2 separate regions of the Homo sapiens genome follow, and region 1 is linked to region 2. The links are contacts of gene promoters, found by promoter capture Hi-C in human tissues and cell types (Jung and others, 2019). All regions are on one chromosome and are shown on one strand. Each heading gives the region's core, a stretch centred on a gene start or on the middle of the fragment in contact. The rest is flanking DNA. Distances are from core to core; before and after follow the strand shown. Region 1 overlaps MAP6D1 (MAP6 domain containing 1). Region 2 holds the start of ABCC5 (ATP binding cassette subfamily C member 5).

What was found. Contacts are between HindIII fragments. The study calls those that stand out against the background at their distance.
Region 1: a contact is called between a fragment that was not itself captured here and the fragment with the promoter of ABCC5 in region 2, in 1 of the 25 tissues and cell types used here (IMR-90 fibroblasts).

The regions. Positions count from the first base shown.
Region 1 is chr3:183,816,151-183,820,204 of GRCh38, forward strand. It overlaps MAP6D1 (MAP6 domain containing 1), which reads right to left. Exons shown (of 3, transcript NM_024871.4): 2 at 1,844-1,961; 3 at 1-1,286. The coding sequence ends at 1,206. Among named protein-coding and RNA genes, the nearest start is that of MAP6D1, 7.4 kb to the right of the region's middle. RefSeq lists an enhancer at 1,471-2,082. The HindIII fragment of the contact is 6,103 bases long and covers 1-4,054 here.
Region 2 is chr3:184,015,073-184,019,173 of GRCh38, forward strand. It overlaps ABCC5 (ATP binding cassette subfamily C member 5), which reads right to left and starts at 2,812. Exons shown (of 30, transcript NM_005688.4): 1 at 2,758-2,812. RefSeq lists a silencer at 2,380-2,549 and an enhancer at 3,030-3,209. The HindIII fragment of the contact is 8,418 bases long and covers 17-4,101 here.

The DNA of each region.
Region 1 (4,054 bases), core at 368-2,867, 200 kb before region 2:
ACCTGGGAGGGACGCTGACAGGCAGTCGGAGCTGGAACCACTGTCCCACCTGCACGTCTGGTGGCTCTGAGACCCGAGTGCCACCACCTGCAGCTTAAATGCTCGTCTCACTAGAGCCACTTGTGGGCTGGAGAGGAAGAAAGATCCAAAGGGAAATCCACAAATTTCCTTACTGAAGACTGTCCTGAGCTTGTACCTCTAAGCTTTAAAAAGAGACGAAGACCCCTCAAACGTGTGAAGGCACCAGGCGTGACCCATGTGGCCATGCTGGCTGGAATTTACGGAGGAAGTTAGGAGAGAGCTTTGCAAAGAAAATGAACTGCCTCTTCAAAAGGTGGTGAGTTCCCCGTCACTGTACATGTGAGCAGGGTAGACGGAAGGGTTGGTGTAGAGGACATTTTAAGGTATTTCAGGGAATGAGACAAATGCCACCTTCCCAAAAACAGTTCCAGTTCTCAGCCAGTGTGTATGATAGTGCCCTGCTCATCATCCTTATGTTAGCGGGAAAATCATTAGTAACAAAATGTGGATTCAATCTTTAGAACCTAGCACAAGGTAAATGTGAGTCATTCAATCCCAAGAACTGTTTTGTTAAAACATGAGGCTCATCTTGGCCATAAGGAGGTCTGTGAAGTGGAAGCCCGTGACTGACGGTCTGTTTCTTCTGGAAATTTCCTCCTGGATACTCAGCATCACCATGAGTCATGCAGGTGACGGCCCAAGATTCCAACAGCTTCAACTGCAGGGGCCATTTGTAGGAAGAGCCAAGGGTCTCACTGTAGGTTATGAAATTAATCAAGTGCTCACGCATCCTGGGAAATCCACCAAAAGTGGACATAACTGGTTCTTTCAAGGGCCGGATGTGTCCACATTCCTCAGCTTCCATGGACCAATTCGGTTCCCAACTGACTTGATCCTCAGGCTCCTCAGAGATTTCAAAACTGAGAGACGGCCAGATGGCAGTTAACGAACGCAGGAGCCTTCCACAGGCTTCTCAAGAGGATGCTTGAGGCTGAGCTGGGTGTGCCAAGTCCATCGGTGCATCTGCTCCACACCAGCACTTTGGCCCTGGTGACAGCTTTGAGAGGGGCTGTGCCCTCCCGCAGGGGCCCATGCCATGCTCTCGCCCAGCCCCGCGGCAGTGGGTCCTGAGGCCGCTCCCCAGCCCTGTCCTGTCGGCAGCCATGGTGTCACGGTGCAGGCAGTCACACGTTGAGAATCCGGGGAGCTGAGGCCTGAAAGATGGCGGAGGGGTTAGGAGTGAACTTCTTCCTCACCTCTGGGACCTGAAAAATGAAGTGTGGCCACATATCAGTGGGACTTTTCCTTAACTCCCTACTCTTCCCCACTACCCAGCTCCAGGAAAAAATCCCCTCCCATCCTCTGCATCCTCCAGGAGTTGAGACCTGAAGGGTCAGAGGGGACTTGCCCACCGTGAGCCATAGGCGTCACTGCATTAGCAGCTGAGTGGTACACGGACCTTCCATTCTGCTCCCTGAACCACTTGGGAATCGGAGCTGAGATGCCCCCACTCCCTTCCATCGTCTCTTTCCTCTTACACAAATGCTGTGGTACTCAGGCCAGTCACTAGCGTTCAGTGGCCAAGGGTAAGATGGGGATTTAGGAGGCAGAGAGACCCTGCTCACCAGAGAGGCCAACGCTAGAGGGCCACCCAGCTGGCTACTGATGAGGAAGTACCTTGGGTTTTTGTTCGGGACATCTGGTTGGCACTGCTGTCCCTGGTCATAATTGCATTTTACACCATGAAAATCTGGCTCCTAATCCCTACCCGGGGAAAGAGGCCTCTATACCCACACCCCTGCTACACCAGCTTCCGGCTGACCTGGAAGCCGGCCCCAGGGCTGCTGTCCCATCCCGAAGTGTGGGTTGTGATGACTCGGGCTGGTTTTGTCTTTGTGGATCTTGAGGGCTTCACTCCAGTCCAAGCCTGGAATTCCTGTCTGGAACAGAGAACACGGTCACAAGCTTGCACAGGGTCAGCCACCCCTTTACCGACTCCCCAGGGGCTGCTGCTCTGCCCCATGCACGGCCCTGCCAATTGCTGAAACCCTCGGCTCCAGGCAGTCCTCATCATCTTCCCAAAGACAGAACTGGCAAGGCAAGTGCACTCCCGTGCAGGCCCAGCTCCAGGAGAAAGGTGTGTGGCTGCCTGGCCCCTCACCTCAGCGATCCACTGGGAAATCTGGGCTCACCCCGGTCCCTAAGGAAGTAGGAGAGGAAGCTTATTCTCACACTGCAGGCGAGCGGCAGGGTCAGGGCAGAGCTCAGTTAGCACCTGGGTCTCATTCAGAACGCAACAGCACCTGGCACTGCTGGGTCTTGGAGACGAGCAGCCCCGGTGCTATACCTGCACCCCCTGCGATTCTCCCACACCTGCCCCTCCAGAGCCAGGCTGCTTCAAGAGACCCAGGTCATGGTGACTGCTTATGCCTGAAGAGGAAATGCCCTCAGCACCGGGCACAGCCCTGGCTTGCCAGACCCGCTTAAGACTGAAAAGAAAAATAAGGCTCAGAACTTTTAGTTTTTTATACTTTGTCTCATTAACTCATGCAGAAGAATGGATCGCAGTGACCATCTCAAAAGACTCCAAGGTGGCCTGGCCTTTGCACAGCTCTGTGCATGGTGGAGGGAGTGGATCATGCGCTGTTGCTGAGCCTGTGGCGGGGAGGGTGGTGTGATGGGGGAAGGCGGGCCCTGGAGGGAGAGGATGAGGCTGGCACCGCTAGCTCCATGTACCGGGAGCAGCTTTCTCCATGAAAAGACAGTGCTTCCATTTCTCTGAACAAAAGGGACCTCCTTTAATTCTACCCACTCCTCTGCAAGATGGGGAGCTCAGAAGGCAGAAGTCCCTGTGTCCCAGGAGCACCTGGCCAAGGTGGAAGTGTCCAGCTAGCTGGGCCTGGCACCCACGTGTGCGGAGTTGCTCCTGCCCAGGCTGGACACTGCCGGGGTTGGGCTTCAGGCCCTGAGGTCAACAAAGCTGCCTTTCTCCTTGGCAGCTGCAAAGCTGGGGCACCACTGGGCAGGCTGCGTGGGCAGGGAATGGCTGTGTCCATGGCCAGCACTGGGGTGCCAGGAGGAGAGCTAGGCCGGGGCCCCGTCAGGTAATTTTCACTCCCGAAGCCGCGAGCTTCTGAAGACCAGCTGCCCAAACCATATGCTGCTCTGTTCCTCCTGCGGAAGCAGGTCCTCCCCTGGGCGCGCCCTTCTGTCCCCAAAACACTTCACATGCCCACGCTGAGCCTTGGGCCTGGCATCCTGAGCCCGCTGCCCTGAGGTGGCTGCAGGGGTCTCAGAGCAGGAAGCCACCAGAGCCACAGACGACAGCAATCCTGGCGGCCGCCAGAGGAGGAACCCGGGGCTGGAGCCCAGATGGGAGAGGGGACCTTAAAGATGGAATGGGCAGGACCCGGTGACTGCCTGGAGAGAAAGAAAACAGACTCATGGCTCAGGCCAAGATTAGTAAGAAATACAGGCCTCCCTGCCTGCTGTGCCCCCATACAGTGCTCAAGCATGTTCCGGCATCAGCCCCGGACAGAGGATTGGGAGGCCTGGGTTCTCAGCCCAACATGGCTTCAGACACATTCCTCAACTTCCCTGAGCCTCAGTTTCTTCTGAAAAGTGGGGCTGCTGACCCATGTGCCTGAGGCTGTTGTGAGTCTTCGTTTCGGGCACTCAGTAAAGTGGGGCCAAGTCTTGTGGAACTTGAATATCAGCCCTTTAACTGCCCCACCTAGGCAGGAAGGAGGGAAGCAACCAGGGAGCAAGGACTGCCTTCCAGAAGTGGGCGGGGCTAGCAACTGGGCCAAAGATGCCCAATGGCCCAGAGAGAATTCAGAGGGGGCCTGTCAGGTGGAAGGAGCCAGGCTGGATGTGGGTAGGACCTGCTGTGCCCATGTGGCCAGGCAGGCAAGGCAGATCAACTCACGTGCAGACCAGAAGCCAGCAAGGCAGGTCCTGCAGGGGTGAAGAAGCTGAGGCCCGGGGATCCTGGGTACTCCCTCAAGAACCTTGAGTTAGGAGTGGCCTCACA
Region 2 (4,101 bases), core at 1,562-4,061:
ACAATGCAGTGAATACATTGAAAAAAAACACACTGAATTTATACTTTAAAAGAGTGAATTTCATGTCATATAAATCCTATGGCAACAAAGCTGTTAGTAAAAAACAATAACAAAAACAAATTCTCCACCCTGTATTACTAAGTCTTACCTAGTTTTTACCTGAAACTCTATTCTAAACCACTGCTTGCCTGGCTAAGTCTAATCAATATGCTGTATCAACTCAGGTCACTTAAAAACAAAAAACACATACATACTTCTCCAAAATGTTTCCCCCCTCTAAGAAGGGTCACAGCCTCCCAGAGACAAGCTGAGAAAACACCTTTCATACTAGCCTCCAACGGAAATTAAAGACGTGTAGCCGTGTCGCCTTCTGGATTCCATAAATCCCTGGCTATCGCTGTGACTTAAAACTACTACTTCTGCAGCACAAAATTCTAACCATTATAATGCAATTTTTAAAGTGTCAGATAAAAAGAGAACACTTACTAATCCTCTGAATAAAAAGGACTAAATCTCCTATGCAAAGACAGGTTTCCAGTCCAAAGAAAGCTTGATTTCTTGCCTTTCAGAATTCTGGTTCAAGTACCCTAAGTTGATATAGCTGTTACTTATCTTTAAAAAAAAAAAAAAAGTCACCTTGTCCAATGACAAACTACACCATAAAGAACAGCGGCTCACCAAGCCAGAGTGCAGCAATCACGTCATTGAGACCTCATTAAGGCTAAACTATAAACAGACCTGGCATCTGCCAGTGTCCCCAGTGTTGAGCTGTAGCTGTAGATCAGAGTAACCTTCTTACGGGAATCACGAAATTCTAACCTTCCCCTTCAAGGGTTCCCTAGCTTAGCTGATTATCTGGAAGAGGAAAAGATTAGTACTACCTTTTTAAAAGGTGGGGGTTGGGGCGGTGAGCAGTTTGAAACAGAGGAGGTCACTGGAACTCATCCACAATATGAAATGCCACATCAAGAAGAACACGAACATAATCTTAATTATCTAAGCACCCATGATAACCAAAGATTCTTTCAACCACTTTTATTTCAAAGGATGAAGTAGAATCAGTGGAGCACAGGAGCAGAGAGAGGCAGGGACAAAACGACTTCCCTGTTATGACACAAATAATGACTGTTTTGTGCCTACAGTGACTGCTGTGGTAGACACTGCTAAACTATCCTAAGGGACTAAGTTATTCTATGTATGAAGGGTGTGGGGAACAGTGTTCCATTATCTCTAACACACTCATCTCTACTTTCCTGGAAAAAGAGGCACAATCAGGAGAGCAGGCAGGCCCAAAGTAGGCACAAAGTTACTGTCTGTGGCCTTGAACATAAGGACACCATCGTCTGTGTATCTGGAACATAAAAGAGGGCACCCCACGTGGAGGCCGGCGAAGAGCTGGGAATCCTGACAGGTTTGGAAAGAAACAAAGCCCCAGTCTGAAGCAAGCAAGCAAGCAAGGATGGATCCCCAGGCCAGCCATTTTACTGATACTATTTATATTTCCCTATCTTCTCGTGTCCTCCTTTAAAGTTGTTGGAATATCTTTTTTAAATGCTCACTTGCCTCAGCTATCAAGAGAGGAAGAAAGAGAAGGGATTTTTGTTTGTAAAAAACAAACCTGTTGTCCAGACATGTACAAGGGTAGAAGCAGAATAATCAACGTGGGAGAACCCCAAAGAAGTGCCCAATAGGGTTGAGGCCACTTAGTCAGCTGCCCTTTTTTACCAAGATTCTCTTTCCACTGATAAAAGTGTAGACACTCTCCCTGCACAATGATACTGATTCAACTGCATGGCAGGAGGAGAGTTGCACGGGATTACCAGACTGGTGTGTGCAAGCTGCAGTCATCCCAACACTCATGAGTAGGTTTCCATCACCTCCAGGCCCTCAAGCTGCACGAGGAAGACACCACGCTAAAGGGATACGTATTTACCACACCCACTGTAATCCACTTGTTGCGTCTCCAAGCAGCCTCACCTTTCATACACGCTGCGGACCACAGTAAAACCTAGCCATCTCCTCCTCCAAGACCTCCTGAAACTTTCCCCGTCGTTCCTGTGCCCACCTGCCTCCAGCCTCTCCGTCTGTGCAGAAACCAAATGGCCCCTGTGTGATAAACACAAAGCCACCCGCGGCTCTGTGTGGCAGAAGCGAAAAGAGCACTGGATGACCGTGGAGAGATCTGGGCTGCGTTCCCGGCACAGCCACGGCTTTGCTGCGCGTGCTTATGTCACGTACCTCCATTTACCCGCTTGCAAAAACGAAGGGGATGACTTACTTCGAAGGTCGCTGGCGGCTCCGCTGCGGGTTGAGCAGGGTGCCCCGAGCCACCCGCTGCACAGCCTCCCAGGTGGGCGTTTCTCTCAGACCCGCTTCGCCTGGGATGCCCGGGCCCTAGGGCGTTCCCACAGCCCGCTCCGGCCTGCCCAGGCGAGCGCGACCCACACCCACGGCCCGCGGGCGCAGCGCCCCCTGGCGGCCGCGGCCAGGGACGTAGCCCGCGTCCCTGCCCGCTCATCCCGATCCTACCTGCCTGTCTTCCAGCACACGACCCCGTCACCAGACCCCGGGCTCACAGGCCTAGGAGGCGGCGGCAGGAGACCAGGGGGAGGCCATACGCCGTTCCCCAAGTCTCCAGTGTCCCCCGAACTGCTCGCAGCCCTGGCCACATCCCGCCACGCCCCGAGGAAATGCAAAGGGGTGATCCCCGTGACAACCGAGCTGGAGGGCAGGGGTGCGGCAGCAGCCATCACCTACCTGCGCCCCTGCTCCAGGACAACCGCGCCAGCCGCTCAACCACGCTCCCGAGCATGAGCCCTGCAGCAAAACAAGCCTTTATAGCGGCATCGGCCGCCACACCGCGCAAGCGCGCTGCACAAAGCATTCCCAAGGCTGAAGGGAACTGTAGTCCTCCTTCCGAGTGCCCAGGGCTGCGGACGCGGCGAAGGACTACATTTCCCAGAAGCGCCGGTGACATCCCGGGGGCGGTGCGGGCTGCCCCTCTTCCCACCGAGCTCCCGGCTCTGTTCCATCCTTCCCCGTGCCTCTGCGAGACTGTCTGGAATCTTCTCAGGGGTCGTGTTCCCTGGGGGAGGCAGCCGGGAGGCTTAACCGTGGCCCTGTGTTCGCACACAGTGCTGTTCGTAGGCAGAGCAGTCCCACCCTGCGTGGCCGTGTAGCTGCCAGAAAAGATCGTGAAGGTCATCGTAGCCCGCGTCTAACCCGTTGAGAGTCGTCAGGCCGGCCAGCCCCAGTTCTTATCTGTTGTGGCAGATACGATTGCTTGCTCATGGTTCGACCCTGCAGTCTGCGCAGATACCGCCTTTCTCACTTTAACACCAACTGCCCATCAATGTCTCGCTGCCTGGTCTCTAGATAATAAAATGCCAGGATCACAGTCTTAGAAGTGGCAAGAGCCTTAGAAATGTTATGCTAACTCATCTTCTTCTTTTTATAAATGAAACTGAAGCTCCCAGAAAGATTGATCCCTTTATTTCTCTGTTTCATCGGTACCTTCAGCATCATTAAATAAAAGCCACTGTTGAGTTCTTCCCTACCTTGTATCCGATGCTTTACATACCATTCTTGTTTCCTTTAATCTCCATTACAGCCCTATGAGTAGGTATTATGAGTTTTTTTTTTTTTTTAAGGAGTCTGGCTCTGTTGCCCAGGCTGGAGTGCAATGGCGCGATCTCGGCTCACTGCAGCGTCCGCCTTCCGGGTTCAAGCAGTTCTCCTTGCCTCAGCCTCCCGAGTAGCTGGGATTACAGGCGTCCGCCACCACGCCCGGCTAATTTTCGTATTTTTTAAGTAGAGACAGGGTTTCGCCATATTGGCCAGGCTGGTCTCGAACTCCCGACCTCAGGTAATCCGCCCGCCTCGGCTTCCCAAAGTGCTGGGATTACAGGCGCGAGCCACCTCACCCCGCCGTATTTTTTTTTAATTCAAAGATTAAAAAAGAAGAAGAAGAAGAGGAAGAGGAAGAAGGAGAAGGTAAAGTGACTTGTCCATCTTTATAACAGCTAGCTAGTTAGCTAGTGTGAAGACACTACTGTATCGTAAAGCAGCATATTCTTGCGCACGGATTGATAGACCAATGCA